2 separate regions of the Homo sapiens genome follow, and region 2 is linked to region 1. Evidence: promoter capture Hi-C in 16 types of primary human blood cells and fetal thymus (Javierre and others, 2016). All regions are on one chromosome and are shown on one strand. The core of a region is centred on a gene start or on the middle of the fragment in contact, and the rest is flanking DNA. Distances in the headings are between cores, read along the strand shown.

Evidence for each region. The method cuts DNA at HindIII sites, captures the fragments that hold promoters and counts their contacts. A CHiCAGO score of 5 or more calls a contact.
Region 2: a contact is called between the fragment with the promoter of JADE1 here and the fragment with the promoter of RAPGEF2 in region 1, in 1 of 17 cell types (total CD4 T cells). The highest score is 6.5, in total CD4 T cells.

What each region holds. Positions count from the first base shown.
Region 1 is chr4:159,100,692-159,107,279 of GRCh38, reverse strand. It overlaps RAPGEF2 (Rap guanine nucleotide exchange factor 2), which reads right to left and starts at 4,201. Exons shown (of 30, transcript NM_001394067.2): 1 at 3,049-4,201. The coding sequence starts at 3,117. RefSeq lists silencers at 3,062-3,481, 3,449-3,743, 3,492-3,781, 3,822-4,041, 4,172-4,711 and an enhancer at 4,360-5,051. The HindIII fragment of the contact is 5,553 bases long and covers 1,126-6,588 here.
Region 2 is chr4:128,807,191-128,813,778 of GRCh38, reverse strand. It overlaps JADE1 (jade family PHD finger 1), which reads right to left and starts at 4,079. Exons shown (of 11, transcript NM_199320.4): 1 at 3,902-4,079. RefSeq lists enhancers at 1-241, 242-823, 3,567-3,676 and silencers at 1,267-1,836, 2,017-2,116, 2,237-2,516, 3,147-3,266, 3,777-4,256. The HindIII fragment of the contact is 6,052 bases long and covers 1-4,863 here.

The sequences.
Region 1 (6,588 bases), core at 2,952-5,451:
ATTAAAGACATAAACCCAAATGGTTAAATAAAGCAATTACTTAAGAGTCCTGTTTTTCAACAGAGGTGCACTGAAAAATATCAGTAGAATGTTTTCAGGGCTCATTATTTTCAAGGAAGTTTGTTATTTAGAATACAATGCCCCATTGACTAGAACTCAGCCAGGTTTCCAGACACACAATATGGGACACACATTGGATTAGAGTTTTCCTCCTCCTCTCACAATATCAGGTGAAATAGTGATAGTCTCTTGAAACTGAGTATGTATAACCTGGCTAAAACTTAGATGATAATTTTTTTGGTATTTCTCCTTACTATTCCCCCTCTCTAAAGATATAACTGAAATGCGTTTCCATTGTGCAGGTGGACATGAAAAGCTCCCAATTTATGAAAGTTCCTGGTACTCTTCCCACCCCTAGATTCTCTTCTAGCCAACTTCTTAGGTTACACCAATGACATCAGGATTACTTCTAGGCAATTGATTGACCTAAATACAAAACTATGTTTTCACGGAGCTTGGGAAATGAATGAGGCCAGCAAGCCTTTAAAAAACAAACAGAAATGAACAGCAGGAAAAAAAATTACATATGTTCCCCAATTCTTTTCCTTTTGCCTATAACGAGAATCATGCAAACTCCTTTATCGAGTCTATCCTCAGAAACAGAAGGAAGCAAAACAGCAAAACTTTCCTAATTCCTGTCCTTCTGTTCATGATATCAAGCTTATTTAACATGGTTGCTTTTCTAATATTATAAAATTCGAACTCACAAACATTTATAAGACAAGGCTGTATGGAAAATCTTCCAGCGTTCCATTAACAAAGCATTCTTAACATAAAAAGTACCTTCTACAAAAACTTTTTTTTTTATAATTTTTGAGTAAATTTCAAATTTTTATAAGATTACTCCTGGCCAGTCAGGTAAAGATGGAAAACGTTCACATTTCGAACAACTTTCTCTTGAAAAGAAATAAACGTGGGGATTTGTAGTAATAACCAAACGAACATCAAAGTTAATAGGGCTGACACTTAGGAATGTTTGAAATGTTTGGTAGGTTTCCTTATGTTTACTTTTTCTATGAAGGTTTGGTAGGGCAAATGGGCTGCCTTCCGACTGTCAATAAAGCTTTCATGTCGTGGGTTAGTAGTAGCTGGCCCAGGCCAAGTTCTGTGTTGGGTCAGTTTTTACTCTATTCTACACAACTGGCAGGGGAACAGGAAAGTTTAACAGTTCATTTATTTGGCACAGTGGGCCCACAGTCACAGTGGAGGTTTTGTCTCTTCTAGTCTTGTTTGGTGACCCGCCCCCCAACCTGATAGTAGGTTTTAGTCATTGTTATTCTTCTAACTAATCAACCAAATGCACCACTTCCCCCTTCTCTAATTTCCACCAAAGGCCTCTGACATCATTTTCTGACCAGCCTTGCTAGGTTCTAATATTCTCAGCATGCGTAATTTCACTTGGCACTTAAAACAATATTCTTGAAAGGAAATGAAATATCTCACTGAAATCTGCTTTTCCTTCACACTGAGACAGGGAATGTGCATTTTCAGATGCAGAAGACTGATCCAACTGACCATTTTAAAACAAATAGATGAGAAAGGCATAGGAAAGGCAGCGTGTGCAACACCAAGAGAAGAACAAGATCAATGCAGGACATTCCTTGTTGGGATAAAAATAGTCTTTTAGAATGGGAACTTTCTGGAGACAGATAAATTTTCTTGTAAAATTACAGCCATCTTCCACACGTTTGATAAATATGTGCAATCTATCCATGATCTCCCAGATGTGACAGCTCCATCAAGGAAAATGAAAAATCAAAAACGGTACCAGGTGCCACTCTTGGGGCTTGTCCAAAGGCAGCCAGGGGAAGAGTCTATTTTATTATGCTCTCCCCACAGTAAATAATAATCAACATCAGAGAAGGAGAGCATTTGGATTTGAACAGATGGCATCCAACATCTAACAAGCGAAGCAACACTTTCAAGCATTAGATCCTAAATGTCTGATGGTCCCAAGGATCAGGAGGGCTTATTTGTCTTAAGAGGGTTGGCAGGCAGGATCTCCTATAGTCACCATCCCAACGCTTAGGAATATGCGTCATTATCCAGTCAGCAACTAAAGGCGGAGAAAATTAAGCTACCACATTTTTATAAAATTTCCCCCTCTCCAGTAAAACTTGAGACAACCAAATCCAACCCTATCAGCCGCTATAAGTAAGAGAAGAGTAAGCCTGCAGGTAAACAAATGTATAAAGGTTAACAAACTTATCTAATTTTGACAAGGTTGTGCAACACCAAAAGAATCCGCAGGGTGCCCTTCCCGAGGGTGTACTGGAACATGCCTGCTCTGCAGCTATGTCTGCAATTTAAACTAAAAGCACTAACTTAGCTATTCAACTTTTTTTCCCTTCAATTGAAAGCAGTATCCTTTAAAAAATAAAAGCAAAACAGTAAACATACAAACACCTCAATGTTTTACTGAAGGTCAGCATGGATTTGTCTTTAGCACAACCGTACAGGTTTCCTCCTATACCTTTCAAACACCACTGAACTCCAAGGGTCACTTGCAAGGGGAGGAACGGATCTGGAGTCAGAGGGAGCAAGAGTCGCTGCCCGAGGGGAGATGAGACTCCATCCCCTGAGATTCAGAGGCCACGGAGGGCGGCTGGGGAGAGGGAAAGCTAGAGAATTCACACATTCACACACATACACACACACACACACACTCTCTCTCTCTCTCTCTCTGTCTCTCCCTCTCTCTCTCTCTCTCTCTCTCTCTCTCTCTCTCTCGGCTGGGCAACATAGTGGGAAAGGTCAGTCATGGGGAGGGAAGAGTTAAGGAGCAGAATGTCAAGGAGAGGGAAAAATAAAACCAGGATAGGCGGAGTAAAAGACTCGGAGGTGGGATGCCTTTGGAAGTTGGGGGTCCTGATGCAAGAAGTGGGGTGCTCGGGGCGAACTGTGTCAGGAAGGAGGTGGGGGGACAGGGGAAGACGCAGCCTGCGAGGCAGAAATCCGGCCAAGGGCAGGCGGCCGCCGCGTTCTCACCTGGGGGGTCCTTTCGGGGGGATTCTTCATCACCGCCTGGCGGAAGCTGTTATCTACGTAGGACGCCATCTCCCCTCTGGGAGCGGGCCGGGGCCGCTCCGCACCCTGGCCGGCCTCCTCCCGGCCCAGCGCCGCTGCTGCCTCCGCCCTGCGCGCTGCGCCCGCCCGCCCGCCCGCGACTAATCAGCCAAACCGCGGCGGCGGCGGCGCGGGGCCCGCGGGGGGGCGGCTCGGCTGGGCCCGGCGGCCGAGAGCGCGGTACAGGCGCGAGGGGCTGGACGCAGCCGGGAGGGTCGCGGCGCCCCTAGGCTGCCGTGCGATGCGGCCCGCAGGCGGAACTCCCCTTCCTCCTCCTCCTCCTCTTCCTCGCCGCTCCGCCGGCTTCCTCCGGCCCTGGCTCGACACGCCTCCCCGGCTCCACTCGGGGGACAGTGGCGGCTCCTCCTGGCCCCAGCGGGCCCGAGTTATTTTTAGGGAGGTACGAGTGGCAGTGGGGAGGGCTGTGGGCAGGCGGAGCCTCCTCCCCCACGGCGCTGAGGGTCGCCCCCTCCTCTCAGGGGCTTGCGCAGCCGCCGCCCAGGGGTCTCCGAGAATCACTTGGATCTTCCGCGTCCCCAGTCCTCGGGCGCCTCGGCCGCCGGTCGGGAGGACGGACCAGGTGGGTCTGGCTCAGGTCCGGGCGCTGCGAAGCCCGATCGCCTCGGCCGCCGCTCCTGGTCTCTGTCTACTGGGCTCGGCCGTCCCTCCCGACTGCTGCTGCATCCCCTCGGGCCGCCCAGCCGCCGCCGCCGCCGCCTCTGCTGCTCGGGCCGCCGCTGTGGGCTCCGCCGCCGCCGCCTCCCCCCATCAGCGCGCCCGGAGCGGAGCTGCCCCGGCGCCGGCGCCGCCGCGGCCAGAGCACCCGGCCCGGGCTGCAGCCCTCCGGCCCAGTCGCTCTCGGCAACTTTGTTCCTCGTCTGCGCGGGGCGGAGGAGGGGGAAGAGGGGGCCGCGGACAGCCCGGGTTCGGACTCCCGGCGCGGGCGTCCGAGGGCCGAAAGCCGAGAGCCGCGCACAGCCCCCTCGGAGAGAGTGTTTGGGAAGCGGCGATTCCCCTCCTCTTCCTCCGCCTCTTCCTCCTCCTGCGCCTTCTCCGGCCGCCGGAGCCGCTCCTCAGGGAGGAAGCGGCCTCTGGGGCTTGTTGCTTTGTGCTGCAACCATGGTGAGGAATGAGTGACAGCGTGGGGGCGAGTCGGCGGCCGCCGCATCATCGGGGGGCGGGGCAGCCCCGTCGCGCCGGGTCCCGCCTCCCCGCTCCCCGCCCGCCAGCGGCCGCGCCCTCGCGTCTGAGCGGCACCTTCGGCGGCGCCCAGGTGAGCAGCGCTCTGGCCGCAAGTGGGTCGCGGAGCCCTCGGCCGGGCTGTCGGGTCCCGCGCGCGGCCTGGACCCGAAGAGGGGGCGCAAGTCCTGGTGCCCCGGAGAGAAGCGCAGGGCTTTCCTCACGCAGTGTCCCCCACTGTCTCACGCCGCGCCCCCTCCCCACACCCGACGCGCCCTACTAGGAGACCCAGCCGCGTCGGGTCGCTGCTCCCCGCCCGCTCCTGGCGCCACGCCGCCGCCCAGGGGCTGAAAGCTAACCTTGGGCAAAAGACCGGCCCACCAGCCCGGGCTGTACTGGGCATTCTTTTTGAGCCCAAGAGTTGCGTCCGAGTTGCTTCTGTGGCGATAAATCCTCTTAGGATTTATTTTGCTTATTTGTAATTTGCTGCACCCTCCCCTGCTTTCCAAGCCCACTCTGGCACCTCAGACAGTAAAATGACCACGAAATTAGGCAGAGAGGTTTCAACACCAGACCCACTACCACCCCTAGACCAACAAACACTCCAGATTTAAAGTTGATCACTCCTTAGCGACAGACCAGGATGGCAAGTTCTGTGACATAATCAGAAACATTTATTGGTAGGTCTGGCTTTGCCTTGGACAGAACAAGCCTCCTCCTCTAGATGCTCAAATTTCCAAACCGGACCCACATGGTGCAGAAACAATACCTCGTCCTTCAAGATGTCACCGCTCCTGCTGATTCCCTCAGCTCCCCCCCACTCCTTGCCCCGGCCACGTAGAGGTGTGTTAAGGTCAGCCCAAGCATCGGGGACCACTCTGCTGTTCTGGTCCCAGGGATTTATTTTTGTTTGCCCCCACCCCCCACAAGTTCTTATTTTGATATCTATAGACACAATGAGTTTTATGTATGAGCTACTGCGTTGAACTTTTCAAACATGATTTTCAACATCTAGTTTAAACACTTGGAATAGATTGTCAGCTAACATTTTGGGGTTCCTTAAGTCACCTGTGTGCACTAAACAGCTTGTGTGACTTCCTAGCAAAGGGACTGTCCCTGCCCAACCTTGTGAAAGGGAATCTGAGTTACAAATTGTATCTGTAGACCTTTTTATATTACTCTTGCTGGAACTGCTTCTCTATATTTCTCTTTCACCTCTTAGTTGAGCGCCAACATCAAATTCTCTATGACATAGGCCACTACCTTGAAAGCAAAGGAACATGAATAAGTGCCAATACAGCTCTGAAAAAAGGAGAGAGGCAGATAAAAGAATTCAAACCCAATGAAGTGAAAAAATATAACTGACATCTCCACCTGGTGTCTAATAGACATCTCAGAATTCACATGTGCAAACCAGGCTCCAGATCTCCTGTCTCAGACACCCACAGCCTTCCCCATCCTCTGTTAATCACATCTACACCATTCTCACTTCCTGGGTGAAAACGTTGACTTCCTTGACTCCTTTCTTTCTGTTATACCTCAAAAGTGTCAGTAAAAATCGTCAGCTCAACCTCCAGAATGCCATATCTGAACTCTAACCTTTATCTACCACTTCTACTGCCATGACCCTGGTGCAATCCAGCATCATGTCTGGCCAGCACTTTGTCATAACCACCCACCTGGTCCCCCTCTTTCTAACCTTGCTTGCCATACAGTTCATTTCCAACACAGCAGCCAAAGTGTGAATTCTTTTCACTCCTTCTCAAATCATTCCTCTGCTTAGCTCCTCATACCACTCAAGGTAAAAGCCAAAGTCTTACCATGGCCTGAATATCCTATGGACCTTTATCTCTCTGACCTCTTCTACTATTCTGTTCCCAAGCACATTAGCCTCCATGTTGTTTCTGAAACAGCAAATTCCAGTCTCATGACCTTTCCATCTGCTGTTCCCTCTACTGCCTGGATTATCTCTCCCCCTCTCCCCACCCCACTTGCACCCACAAAAACAAAAAACAAAAAGAAAAATGCACACACACAACAACCAAAATATAGAATGTTGTTCCTCATTGTCATCATATCTTCATTTGAATGTCACCTTCCCTGTAACTCCATACACTCTGGTTATCTTCGTCGCTTTACTTACCACCTAACATACTGTATATTGTACAGGTGCTTGCCCACTTAGGATGGGGTTACATCCTGAGAAACCATTGTAAGTCGCAAATATTGTAAGTCAGAAATGCATTTAATACCCTGATAAACCCATTATAAAGTGGAAAAATC
Region 2 (6,588 bases), core at 2,830-5,329, about 30 Mb after region 1:
GAAGAAGACAGCAAAATACCAAGCAGAAAGTCATCTGATTTACAAGTGACCGTAAGCAGGCTGGGCGTGGTGGCTCACGCCTGTAATCCCAGCACTTTGAGAGGCCGGGGCGGGCGGATCACGAGGTCAGGAGTTCGAGACCAGCCTGGCTAATATGGTGAAACCCCGTCTCTACTAAAAATACAAAAAAAAATTAGCCAGCCGTGGTGGCACGCGCCTGTAGTCCCAGCTACTCAGGGGGCTGAGGCAGGAGAATCGCTTGAACCCAGGAGGCGGAGGTTGCAGTGAGCTAAGATCATGCCACTGCACTCCAGCCTGGGTGACAGAGCGAAAGACTCTGTCTCAAGGAACAAAAAAAAAAAAAAAAAAAAGTGACCGTAAGTAAATGAGACTAAGATCTTTGGGATAAAAGGACAATAAAAATTCTGGGTTGCATGTACTTGCTAAGAGTGTTACTCACAAAACATCCCATTTAACTCCCCCCACGTATGTTGCCCACCTACAACAAATTATTACATCAAAAGTGTTGACTCAATGCAAGTATGGACATATTGAATGCTTCCTTTCTCCACCTTTCTCCACCTGTGATTAAATCTTGATCAGTTGTGATATGATCAAAATGCAACTTACTATAAAATCTGTAACCACTGGGGAGTCACTACCTAAATCAGCTTTCAGGGAAATAATTTCCCTCTATCTTAAAACTAGTTCATTAGCTTTGAAAGGTATTAGCCTTGAGCTACAAGTAGCAAGAGAGCTAGCCTTCATGGCGGGTATTATAAAAAGGAAAAATAGTTCACCTAATAAAAAACCTTTGGGAAAGAACCCCCTAAGCATTCCCATTAATGGAAACCTCAGATCCTCTCCTACTTTCCTAAAAACGTAGCTGTCTCAGGTCATTCACTGCAGCTGTCATTTTACAAAAGAAAATTTAAATTCCCTCTTGGCCGGGGCAAATAGAGGGCGACAGCCCCTCGCCCCTGCCGAAGTAAGGCAGGGCGCCAGCCCTCTCGTTACTAGAAGGCAAGCTAAAGCTCCTTTTAAACGGTCTCCGGATGACGACGCATTCCTAACGGGTTTCGAAGGCATGTTTAAATCGCCCGCTTTTTTGTTTGCTCTCAGCATTCACCGGCGCCGGGACTGCGGCCGCCCCCACCCGCTTGGGGTGGGAAACCTGGGGCCAGCGGAGCCTGGCGCGGGAGGAATCCTGGGGCGAGGGGAGACCCGGGACGCGCCAAGCCGGGGTTGAGGACTCGAGAATAAGGAGCTCTAGTGGGAGGGTGGCGGAGTGAGAGGGGACGTGAGAAGGCTAAGGATCCCAGCAAGGGGGGCACCCCGGGGTTGTGGGGGAGCTCGGCCGCCGCCCCGCAGCGGCGAACGCTCCGCGCGGCTCCCGCCGCCCGCCGGGGAATGCGCAGGGCCGCGGTTCCGCGCGGCGCCGACCCCTCCCTCTCTCCCAATCCTCCTCCTCCTCCTCCTCCCGAGGCGACAGAAACAACAGCGCGGGAGGAGGGGAAAGTAACTCCCGGCACCTCCGCCGGAATTAGCCCCGGTGCAGTGATGACACCTTCTCGTGGCGCAACCAAGCCCCGCTCCCTCCGCAGCGGCGTCCCCGCCGCCGCCGCCCTCTCCATTTGAAAGTGGCCACCCCCCGCCGCGGCAGCTCCTCCCGCCCCGCCGCCGCCAGCTGCACCAATCCGCTCGGCCCCAGTTGCAAATCAAACGCTCCCTCGCGTCCAGAAGCCACTTGCGCCGCTGGAAACGGCCGCGCCGTCCCCCTCCCCGAGTCCCTCCGGGGCGGCACCTTCGGGCTGGGGCGGGCGCGCCGGCGAGAAACGGTTTTAAGATGGGAGCGGCAGCGGCGGCGAGGAGCTCCGAGCGGGCTCGGCTCCCGCTCCCGCTCCCGCCCCCAGACAGTTCTGGAAACTGTGTATCACCTCTGTCACAGGAAGCCATCCGGCGAGGAAGGCGGCGCGGAACCAACAAACAAACGCCTGCGGCCGCCCGCCGGAACCGGCGCGGGGACCGCGTCGGGCTTCGGGCCGTTCCCGGGGCGGGGGCGCAGCGGCCACCCCCGCGCCGCGGGCTTTGTGCGGGGCGGGCGCGGCGGGCCGGGCGTCCCCGCCCCCGCAACCCCCCACCCCGGCCCGGGCGGCGCAGCTGGGACCGTTAGGTGACGCTCCGGCCGCAGCGGAGAAGCAGCGCCTCGGCCGCCGCCCGCCCCCATTTCCACACTGGGCCGCCTCTCCTCAAACACCAGAGGCGGGCTACAAAAGTTGGCCCCGGGGCCACCCAGCACCTGCCCACGTGCCGCGGAGGCTCGCTCCCGAGTCTCCCCCGGTTCCCTCCCCCGCCGCCCTCGGCCGCCAGGTCACCTATTACCGGTGGGAGGGGAGAGAGGCTGCTATTTAAACGCCCGCGGAAGTTGAGGCACCCCCACTGGCGGGTGCCGTGCACCTGCCTCCCGCCGCCGCGCTCCGCCACTTTGAGCAGCAGCCGCGTCCTCAGCCCCGCCTCCTGCCCGAAGGCGGGCGGGGGGGAGCGGGAAGGAGGTGGAAGGGATCGAATTTCTCCAGCAAATGGGACCGTTCCGACAGGATTCGGTTCCCCGGTCAACATTCCACATTCCATCCCTCTCCCGCATTTGCAAGCCAATGCCGAGCAACCCGGAAAGCCTGCTGGCTACCGAACAACAGCCCCCAACTCGCAAACACAGACTCACAGGCACAAGACACGTGCACTGAAGGGCTCTGCAACTTGCAGTCCCGGGGTACACACTACACGTTCATTTAAGGAAGCAAGGAGACCAAGAGACCCCACCCCCACAATTTGCAGATGGTGCCAAAGGTTGCAATTTGCAATCCCCTTTAAGTTCACGATTAATCGGTACTTTGCTCTACCAACGCCAACTCCTACCCCATTTCATCGATTAAGGGGTTTTACACTTTACAAGCAGTCGCGCTGTAAGTAAAAGATCTGATCACTGGAAGCCCAGTTCGGAAGAATCTAATTGCCAAACTGTCCCTCCACCCCCACCCCCACCCCCCTCTCACTGCCCTTGAATTGATGCAATGAATATTTTGGACATGTGGTGACGCGGTGACAAGAGCCAGGGCTGCGGCCACCACACACAGATGTACCTACGCACACCTATGTTTGGACAAATACAGTCCCACCACACACACGGTCTCACACACTCTGGATTCATATATGTACGCGAACCTGCGTTCTGCCATTGCCATCTGTCTACCAAGTTGCTACTATGCTTTCCACTTTCATGCAGCCTAATGCACTTTGGCTTTCTAAAAAAAAAAAAAAAAAAAAAAAACCTATAAACTAAAGCCAACTTAAACTGGGCTTCTGCTCCTAAACGCGTTTAATTGATGATTCACCTGAAAACCGCATGTTCTTCGCAAATCCAAAAGAAGAAATAGCTCTAAGTCTTCAGCCCCCCAAATTTGAAAAAAAAAATCATAATAAAACTTACTGATCCAACATAGATCAATTCTCAGGATCCAAAAATCATCCTCTCCTCCTCCTCCGGCCCCCGCCCCGGCAATGCCCAAGTTACTGGTGGGATAGTAACGCTGCGCTCAGCGGCTGCCTCCCTCCCTCCTCGCTACAGATCGAGAACCCAATCTTTTGGCGCCATATTAATGACGTATTATATTATTTCCACTAGGCAGCGACCTTCGGCATTAAATTACTCCCGAGAACTCCCGAGCAAAGCAACAAAACCATCAAATATGGCTGAGCCTCTCGGCTCGTCCTGCAGCCGCCGCCGCCGCCGCCGCCGTCGCCGCCGCGGGACCGGGACGCGCACACGGACCCACACGCGGACACGCGCGGACACACGCGCGGCGCGCCCACCCCGCGCGCCCCCCGCGGCCCGCGCGCGTACCTGCTGCGGAGGGGTTCGGCCGAGGCGCTGGGCTGGGCGCCGCTCGCTCGCTCGGAGCTGCATGAGTTCGGGCCGCGGCGGGCGGGGAGCCGGGCGGGCCCCTGCTCTCGCCGGCGCGCACACACCGGGCACTCGCGCACGGAGGCACTCTCGGTCTGGCGTTTGGCTTGTTATGGAGGAAGGACTATGTGAATCAAACTCATTTCTGGGTCACTGCTGCCACAGGGGGGAGCACTTTAATCCCTTGCCAAAACGAGAGGGTGGGGACGGGAGGGCGGAGGGAGCATGCGGGGAGCCCGCGGCGCTGGGGCTCGGTCCCTCGTTAACTCTTCGCAGCCCTAGCCGCAGCCGGCTCAGCCTGCGCCAGTGGGGGCTCGCAAAGAACGGCACTGTTCAGCTCTTAGTCTCTTTCCTTACTTCACCCACCTTGTGAGCCTAGAAATTCTTGAGGTGTCTCCAAGCAAGTGGGTTTTTAAATTAGCCCCTTCAAACTGCTGTCCCAGTTTCAACTCTTGTCTGACATCTAGAAATGGATTCTTTCAGAATAGTTTAAAATTACGTAGATTAAAATATGGCTATTAAGATGTGTCATTTGGGTGAAAGGTTTTATTTTTAGGCTGAGTGGCAAAATAGTTGTTTGTAGTAACAGTTTTAGGGAGTTGCACATTAGGATGACATTTTTAAATAGAGAGAATCCAATTCTGAATAACATCTTTACCTAAATTTGTATGGAAGTGATCATTGCAAATGAGCATTAATTCATTAGAAGATATTATTTATAAATTGACACCACTTTATGTTACACATTACTACAGAATTGGACATCTTCTCCCAAATATGAGGAGTGAGCCTAATGCTAAAACTAGAATTGCAGACTAGTATCAGATCAGTCATCGGAGATTCATTTGGGGGTATTTATGTGTAAAAAGGAGTGGTTACTGATTTTCTGCAGAAGACAAGCTTGCTTTTTCATATAGAGGGCAACATACTTCTTTCATGGATTCATCTAGGGAAATAGAGGGGTATATGACATTCAACTTCAATAAGAAAAAAGTACGGATTAAAAACTCCCATTCAGGCCGGGCGCGGTGGCTCACGCCTGTAATCCCAGCACTTTGGGAGGCCTAGGTGGGCGGATCACCTGAGGTCGGGAGTTCAAGACCAGCCTGACCAACATGGATAAACCCTGTCTCTACTAAAAAATACAAAATTAGCCGGGCATGGTGGTACATGCCTGTAACCCCAGCTACTGGGGAGGCTGAGGCAGGAGAATCGCTTGAACCCGGGAGGTGGAGGTTGTGATGAGCCGATAATGCGCCATTGTGGTCCAGCCTGGGCAATAAGAGCGAAACTCCGTCTCAAATAAATAAATAAATAAATAGGAACAGTGATCACTAATTACAAAATTGAATATCGAACCCAAAAGGCATATGTGTCCACCGGAAGAATCTTTCTGAATATATCAGGTTTGATTTCATGTAATCCCACACCAGCCCAACTACCCACATCCAGACCCACATCCAGAACGTTATAATCTGATAAATGCGACAAAACAAAACTAATTGAGCCTTTCAGTTATTTTTCAGAAAACAAAGTAAGCCAGTGGAAATCCTAAGTACTGTATATGTCCTCTCCTGTTTCGCTAATGAAGAGTAGAAAGACTCCCTGCCAGTCCTATTCATGTGTTCACTTAATCCTGTTCAAAGCGATCACACATGTAAAGCACTGTGTTAACTATCATTATTACTATTCTTAGTATTGCACTTGTTATTGTTATTTTTACTGGTTCACCTCGCACATACTCTCTGTAGAAGTTAAAGTACACAGGCTTTGTAGCCAGACATGGCTGGATCTGGCTCTATCAGTTAGCAGTTTGTGTGCCTGTGGGATAAAAGAACTTTATCTGAGCCTCAGTTTCTTCCCTGGTAATAAAATTAAGTTAACAGCTGGCCCCTAACCTGAAGGGTTGTTAAGAGGAATCAGGCAACCTCATAACAGTTCAGGAGTAGAGGCCCTGGCAGTAGGAGGTTGTCCACTCCCTCGGCCATCACTCAACTCCTTCTTGGTTTTCTCTCCATCAAAAATTGCAACTTTTCTAAATTCCAAACAGCCTTACTTCACGCATTCATGTTAAGAAAATTTTTGTCGACCGGGCGCGGTGGCTCATGCCTGTAATCCCAGCACTTTGGGAGGCAGAGGCGGGCGGATCACGAGGTCAGGAGATCCAGACCATCCTGGCTAACACGGTGAAACCCCGTCTCTACTAAAAATACAAAAAATTAGCCGGGTGTGGTGGCGGGCGCCTGTAGTCCCAGCTGCTGGGGAGGCTGAGGCAGGAGAATGGCGTGAACCCGGCAGGAGGAGCTTGCAGTGTGCCGAGATCACGCCACTGCACTGTAGCCTGGGCGACAGAGCGAGACTCTGTCTCAAAAAAAAAATTTTTTTAACTCACATTTGCTGCTTACTCTTTTATTTGCTTTTTCTATCAAAAACATCAGGCACCAACGAAAGTATTGAATAAAATGGATGACAAAAATAAAGGGATAAAATGGCACACAAACTCCCCACACTGACACATTGAACATGAGTGAAGGTGCCATGTACAGAGTCTCAATTATGCCGTGGCTTCAGAATACTCATCCACTGAAACAGTGCTATGTGCTATAAATAGCCCTGGACAAGAAGTC